Regions from separate parts of the Homo sapiens genome. Here region 1 is linked to region 2. Evidence: promoter capture Hi-C in 16 types of primary human blood cells and fetal thymus (Javierre and others, 2016). All regions are on one chromosome and are shown on one strand. The core of a region is centred on a gene start or on the middle of the fragment in contact, and the rest is flanking DNA. Distances in the headings are between cores, read along the strand shown.

The links. Contacts are between HindIII fragments. The CHiCAGO score rates a contact against its expected background, and 5 or more counts as called.
Region 1: a fragment that was not itself captured here is called in contact with the fragment with the promoter of LINC03084 in region 2 in 14 of 17 cell types (neutrophils, endothelial precursors, naive B cells and 11 more); the score reaches 14.6 in neutrophils.

The regions. Positions count from the first base shown.
Region 1 is chr8:104,947,654-104,951,583 of GRCh38, reverse strand. No RefSeq gene overlaps it. Among named protein-coding and RNA genes, the nearest start is that of LINC03084, 240 kb to the left of the region's middle. The HindIII fragment of the contact is 5,175 bases long and covers 1-3,855 here.
Region 2 is chr8:105,187,442-105,191,267 of GRCh38, reverse strand. It overlaps LINC03084 (long intergenic non-protein coding RNA 3084), which reads left to right and starts at 2,473. Exons shown (of 3, transcript NR_187537.1): 1 at 2,473-2,732. The HindIII fragment of the contact is 4,322 bases long and covers 130-3,826 here.

The DNA of each region.
Region 1 (3,930 bases), core at 19-2,518, 240 kb after region 2:
TGAATTCCTGGTACTCAGATTGATCCCATCCAGAGTTTTACTTTGAAGTTTGACCTCAGAATTTGTGCAATAATATCAAGTAGATGATAAAATTACAGGGGAAATTGTGTAATAATAGCACGCCTGTAGAAATCTTTACTTGCATAGCCATGATTCTTGGACACCAACCGGCCCTTGTTTTACATAAGGATATAATATCCCTGTCTATTTGAACCCCATGTTACCAAAGAGCTAAAACACAGATCTGGTTTAATTAAACAGCAAGACCCAACAGAAAGGATCCAATCAAGATGAATAATATTTCTGCTTCTCTCGCCAAAACAAAATAGACTGCTTGAGTGCTTTATGTTCAGGCGCAGCAAGCCAATGCATGCTGGGTGTCATGTCAGATGATAATTCAAGAGTTAAAAAAGACGGAATTCTCATTCACATATGAGAAGCTGCTATCAGCTCCCTTATCGACCTTATGTGTGCTCATGGGTAAGATGCACTGTTACTCATCATAAGATGAGAAATTGATTTATCTGGATAAACTGTTAGAGGAATCTGATGGTCTCATTAGTAAGGTGCTTCCGGGCCAGCAACACTGCCTCCTCTTACTAAGGAAGACCCTTACTAAGGATCAAATGTGCTCCTGGAGAACTACAACAGGATTTGGCCCTAAATTTCCAGATAATGATGGTCGAGTAGGGCTTGATTTATTCTACGTGTTGCTTTTATTCTCTCTATTGATTCCTACAAAATAAAGATGGCCAACCCTGGTACAGAATTAGAAATAATTAGAATCAGTTGTTATTTACTCATGATTTTATTTTTTGCAGAAGTTGAGGAGTGGGTGGGGAGGGGGTGGCAGGCGAGGGGAAATGTGTCCTTTGAATAGCTGCCTCTGGAAGAAATATTCTGGTAAAAAAACTGCTTCCAGTGTTTGTCTAAAATAAAGAAATAAATAAATGTGGCGTCGGGTGAATCACATCAAAATCTCAAGACAATTCCAAGATGAACCAACTCGAAGAGTAAATGACCTCTTCATCTGGGTGATAAAGTTCCAGCCAAAATATTCTCTGGGCCTGAGACGTGATTCATTAGAAATATGTGCATGGTGTGGCGCTCCCCTCTCTATCTGGCAGAGTCCAGTCTGCACGCTGATAAGAAGCAAATGCAAATGTCCTGATAAGAACTGAATGCAAATATTTATGATATGATATTCCCTGGGAATTATGTGCAGATAAAACAAAGTGTATTATTTTCCTGCTTCTCTTTCAGGTTTGCCAAAATGCCCTTTTTCGCTTTTGGAATTTGCATTTCTTCAAAATTGATTCGGCTTGCGTATTATGTTAAGCTATTTGTTTGCTAAGGATGGTAATTAGTTACTGTAATTACAGCAATGACAGTTGCTAAATTGTTTTTAAAGCATTACAGTGAGCCTGTGCCAGAAGATTGCAGTATTTTTTTGGATTTAAGCAGAGGCTGGAAAAACTCCCACTCTAGGGCCAGCATGGGATTTTCAACTACAAAGCTGCTTTTCCTGATTGAAATTTTTAAAAAAATCATTAATTTGCATTGATTGCAAGTGCTAACTTTACATTTAGGTTTATTCACATATCACAGAAATATTAGTGATAGTGGACCTTGGCGTAGAGGAGACACAAGGGGACACTCATCGTAAATAAAAGTGAAAGCTGATAGCAGAGGAAAAATGGTATAACTGTTACTTGGAGCCTGTTAATTAAACTTTTTAGCCTGTTTTTAGATAAATTAAAAACAATTAAAAATGTTTCTCTGAAAGTCATTTCCAAACTTTTCTGAGCACTCCTGGTTAAAATGAGTAATGTGGAAAAGAATAGTTTGGCCATATTCTATTTTTGACATGTGGAAAGTAACAGAAACAAGGAGAAAGGTTATTTACCCAAATATTCCTCACAGATTGAGTTTAAAAGAAAATAATTGAGGAGGAGAGACTTGAGCTATAGTACATGTCCGAGACGGTTTGTATGATTTATGCTGTATAACTGTGACTCAGAGGTTAAAGGCAGGGAATGTGGTTCTCTGTGCTGTTTGTTGTCACAAGTGTCTTCTAACAGTACTTCATAAAGTCTAGAGGATTCAGGTGAGCTCAAGTTTTGTTCTCAGTTACATGAAGTCAAAAGAATACAAAGTTTCAGTGCATAATTTAAGGGTACAGGTTTTTATACTCATATATTCGTACTCACAAATGTCTCATAGATAATAACTACTACTATATGTTAAATGTTGTTATTCCTCTACTGCAAGAAAGTTAGCTACCATCATAACAATAATAACAACAGCAGCTAACATTCATTGACATTTTTCCAAATTCTGGGCACAATGCAAAGTATATTACCACATTCTCTCAACAATTTTTGAGATGTTATTAGCTCCACTTTACAGAATGAAATACTGAAGGTTAGAGTTAGAACTTGCTCAATGTCATATTTCTGGTAAAAACTGAACATGAAATTCAAATCCAGGCATCCTGAGTTCACAACCTGTGCTCTTAACTTGACAGGAAAGAACTTTCCATTTTAATGTAAATAAATAATAAACAAATAAATATTTGTTGAAGTCTTGACTTTGTCCTTTAATCTACAGCTAAACTGAAAGCTAAACCATAAAGTCAAGATGTCAAAAATCAAATTTTTATCTTGAAGTTTGTTCTCCTGAAATTTTATTCTATTTACTTGTTGCAGAGATAAATGTAAATTTTTTTTATTATGACTCCAATAGTACCAGCACTTCATGAGAAATCTGACTTTTCACAAAAAGAATTACTTCCTAGGAACTGACTACTTCTGCTCCAAAAAGACTCAACAAATTTAGTTTGTGTATTTTTCATCATATGAGAACTTTAAATCCCAGTTTGTGTAACATGGTTTTTATATTTGTATGAATACAGATAAAATTGGTGAATTGGTATGTTACTCATTTAAAAACTGAGTTTTGAAAATGACCTCATGCTGTGGATACCTATGTTTGACCCTCATTCTGTAAAGCTGTTTCATGCATGACACAAATCAAATAGCTCCACTATGGGAGGCAAGTATCTTCCATGTACACACACATACATATACACGAGGCATTAGTCAATGCAATTTATACAAGCAGTGTTTCCAATTAACATATTCAACAACCGGTCTTTATGAAGTCACCCCTAATATACTCTCACCCCCTTCAAGCTGGTTATCTCTTCAATTCCTCAACCTGCATGACACTATACTTTTACCTCTTTTAGTGTTTGTCAAAAGACTTATGGTGCCTTTTATGAACCTAGCTCATTGTGTACATATTCATCTCCTTCAATAGACTGGAAGCTCTTTGAATGCTGGGTCTTTTGTATCTCCTGGATCTAGCACAGAGCTTGGTACATGGTAAATGCCCAATAAAGACTTGATGAATAACCACTGAACTCATGTAAACAACCACACATTTTAGTGACACAGGCAATGAGCATTTATTTCTCACCCATGGGTCTACAAGGCAGCTAGGACAGCTCTGCTTCAGGCTGGGGGTCAACTGGTCTATATAGCATTTGTGTCAATTTGGATCCAGTCTAGAGGGGCCCAGCCTGAATCCAGAATTGAAGGCACACCTAGAGCATATTTTTCTCATGATGGAAGGCAGAAACTACCAGGTAGCTAAGTGGAAACATGTGATGTCTTTTAAGGACAAGGCTTAGAACTGTAGAACTGATACCCTTCACTTTGATCCACTTGTTCAAAGCACATCAAGAGCTAAGCCCAATGTCCATTTGGTGGGAAAGTACACCATCTGCCACGGAGGGGCTGGAGGGCAGATGATGGAAGGCTAGTAAGTGTTTGCTGAATGATAACATAAGCTTCCACACATACCAAATTTCCATATATTAAAAGGTATCATCAATCATCTTTTCTCTAATGTAAAGCATATCAAACA
Region 2 (3,826 bases), core at 1,224-3,723:
TAAAAAAAAAAAACCTTGGGGAAACTCTTCAGGACATTGTACTGGGCAAAGATTCCTTGAGTAATACTCCACAAGCACAGGCAACCAAAGCAAATGCGGACAAATGGGATCACATCAAGTTAAAAAGCTTCTGCACAGCAAAGGAAACCATCAACAAAGTGAAGAGACAATTTTCAGAATGGGAGAAAATATTTGCAACTATTGATAAGACAATGGATTAATAACCAGAATATATAAGGAACTGAAATAACTCTAAGAAAATATCTAATAATACAATTAAACAATGGTCAAAATATCTGAAAAGACATTTCTCAAATAAAGACATATAAATGGCAAATAGATGTATGAAGAGGTGCTCCGCATCAATGATCATCAGAGAAATGCAAATAAAAACTACAGTGAGATATTGCCTCACCCCAATTAAAATAGCTTGTATCCAAAATATAGTCAATAACAAATGCTGGCAAGGATATGGAGAAAAAGGAACCTTTGTACACTGTTGGTGGAAATGTATATTAGTATGACTACTATGGAGTACAGTTTGGAGGTTTCTCAAAAAACTAAAAATAGAACTACCATAGAATCCAGCAGTCCCACTACTAGGTATATACTCAAAAGAAAGGAAATTAGTATATCAAAGATATAAGATGTATCTGCACTCCCATTTATTGCAGCAGTATTCCAATACCCAAGATTTGGAAGCAATGTAACTGTCTATCAACAGATAAGTGGATAAAGAAAATGTGGTACATATACACAATGAAGTACTATTCAGACGCAAAAAAAAAAAAGACTGTTATTTCTGTCATTTTTAACAACATGGATGGAACTGGATGTCATTATGTTAAGTGAAATAAGCCAGACACAGAAAGACAAACTTTGCCTGTTCTCACTTATTTGTGGAGGCTAAAAATGAAAACAATTGAATTTATGTAGATAGAAAGTAGAAGGATGATTATGAGAGGCTGGGAAGGGTTTTGGGTAGGGGTGAAGCATAAAGGATGATTAACGTGTACAAAAAATAGAATAAATATGATCTAGTATTTGATAAAACAACAGGATGACTACAGTTAGCAATAATCTATTGTACATTTAAAAATAACTAAAAGAGCATAATTGGGTTGTTTGTAACACGAATAAAGTATAAATATTTGAGGTAATGAATATGCCACTTATTCTGATGTGATTACTATGCATTGTATGCCTGTATCAAAATATCTCATGTGCCCCATAAATATATACACATGCTACGTACCCACAAAAATTTAAAAGGAAACAAAACAGAAAAAGACAAATCACAGACTATTTTGAATTGATTTCTGTGTTTGGTGTGAGATAAAGGTCCAATTTCTATCTTTTGCATGTGAATGGCCACCTTTCCCAACACCATTTGCTGAAGGGACTATCCTTTTCCCATAGTGCCATCTTGACATCCTTGTTGAAGGATGTCAACAATGATGACATCTTGACATCCTTGTTGAAGGATGTCATGCTTGTTAATCATATATATGTAGATTTATTTGTGGCCATTCTAATCTGTTACACTGGTCTATATGTCTGTAATGCCAGTCCCATATACAAATTTTTAATCACTATAACTTCGTAATACGTTTTGAAGTCACAAAGTGTGAGGCTTTTTTTTTTTGTTATTTTTTCTCAATTTTACTTTGGTTAGTTCGGCTCTCTTATGGTTCCATATGAGGTTAAGGATGCTTTTTTATTTGTGCAACAAATGCCACTGAGATTTTGATAGGGATTCCATTGAACCTATAGATCTCTTTGGGCAATATGGGCATTTTTACAATCTTGTCTTTTAATCTATGAACATGGGATGTCTTTCCATTTATTTGTGTCTTCTTTAATTTCTTTCAGTAATGTTTTATAGTTTTTCAGTGTAGAAGACTTTCACTTCTTTGGTTAAGTTTATTCCTAAGTATTTTATATTTATTGATGCTATTGTAAGTATTGTAAGTATTGTAAGGATTGTTTTCTTAATTTTCTTTTTGGATATTTCATTGTTAGTGTATAGCCACATAAGTAATTTTTGTGATAATTTTGGATCCTGCAATGTTGCTGAATTTATTAGTTCTAACAGGTTTTTTTTTGTGGAATCTTGAGAATTTTTTGTGTACCCATGTAATCTACTAATAGAGATCATTTTACATCTTCCTTTCTGACTTGAATGCCTTTTATTTCTTTGTCTTGCTTATTTGCTCTAGCTAGGACTTCAAGAACTATGTTAAATAGAAGTGACAAGATTGGGCATTCTTGCCTTGTTCCTGATTTGAGAGGAAAATTTTTCAGTTTTTAACTGTTGAGCAAGATGTTAGCTATGGGCTTGTCATATATGGCTCTGAGATAGCAAGATAAAAACTAGTCCTCTCAGATAGGCTGCCAAAAGCCAGAAATTTGGTTGCTGGTTTTATTTCTTTTCCTCTCCAGGAGGAAGCAAGGAGTTAGAGGTTTTCTTCTACTCTTTATTTACTGAGCCAGAGGAAGCGACCATGGCCAGTGAAGGGTCCAAATTTTTGCCTTTGTTCTCAGCAGCTCTCAACTTGGCACCCCTTCCTGTCAGTGTTCTTCTAGTCAGGACATAAACCAGTCCCTTGGGCAGCTCCTGAAAAAGTCTCAACATTGGACATATGTTTCAGTCTTCTCTTTCCATTCCAAGGGAGAAACTGAGATCTGGGAGTTTTCTCTCAATTGCATTGCACTGAGGAAGAGGGCCTATGGTAAGTGTTTGCCATGAATCTTCCTACTGGCATTGGTGCAGCTGGGTTTGTGTTTGCCTGGGATGCTGGAACCTTTTAGTTGGTTTCTGGATTTCTCACAAAGGGAAATGGTCTGTATTGTTGTTGAATTGCTTTCTCCTTAGAGGAAAGAGAGGCTAGGGCTCCCTATTCAATCATCTTGCTGATGTCCATTTAATTCCTCCAAAGATGTTTGTCTTGTAGCCCACTAAATTCCTATTCTAAGACTGCCAATTATTTTCTGTGTTTACCAAACGCTGTCATTCTAGAGTCTGTTTTCTTTAGCTTCCAGGGTGAATTTCCTCGCTTCTTATATTGCACAATTTGTCTTTCTTAGTTTCTGTTTCTGTTTTCTGATTCATTATCACGAATGATATCATTAAGAACCATCCTCAGAAAAGGAACATGAGAGGTAAATTCAAGATTTGAAAGCCTTAAAATATTTTATTTTGTTTTTACTCCTGATTAGTATCGGGCAGGGTTTAGAATTTTATATTCTGAATTTTGAAGTCTTTTTTTATTGTGTGATATCAACAAATGGTGCTGATAAGTCAAATTATAGATGGAAAATAATTCTAAAGGAAGTTTTAGATTTATCTATTTGTTGTACTGAAATTTCATGTCTCTAGAAGTACTTCTTTTTACATCTATTTTCTTATTTTCCTATGGACCTTCTCTTTAGCTTTGGGGCATCGACATTAAGTTATAGGTTAGTTATGAGTTGATTACTCGTGACTGTATGAAAAATAAAATTTTAAGCAGAATATGCTTTCTAAAATATTTGTCTATAATCTGCCAAACATCCTTTTTGTTATTCAATATTGGTAATCCAGAATAGATTCATATATGTTCTATCACGTATAAGCAAACATAAACTAAATACAAGAAATACTCTTGGAAATAAATAAAATAACCTAAGTGTCCTTTGATAAAATAATTCAAGATTAAATCGTTGTAGTCTATTATTCAATAATACTAAATTTACCATTCAGAAAAGGGAACAAAATTGCTCAGAAAAAAATTGAGCTCTTTGCCATCCTTATACGCAAAGAAGAGGTTTATGGTTCTTTAGTCCT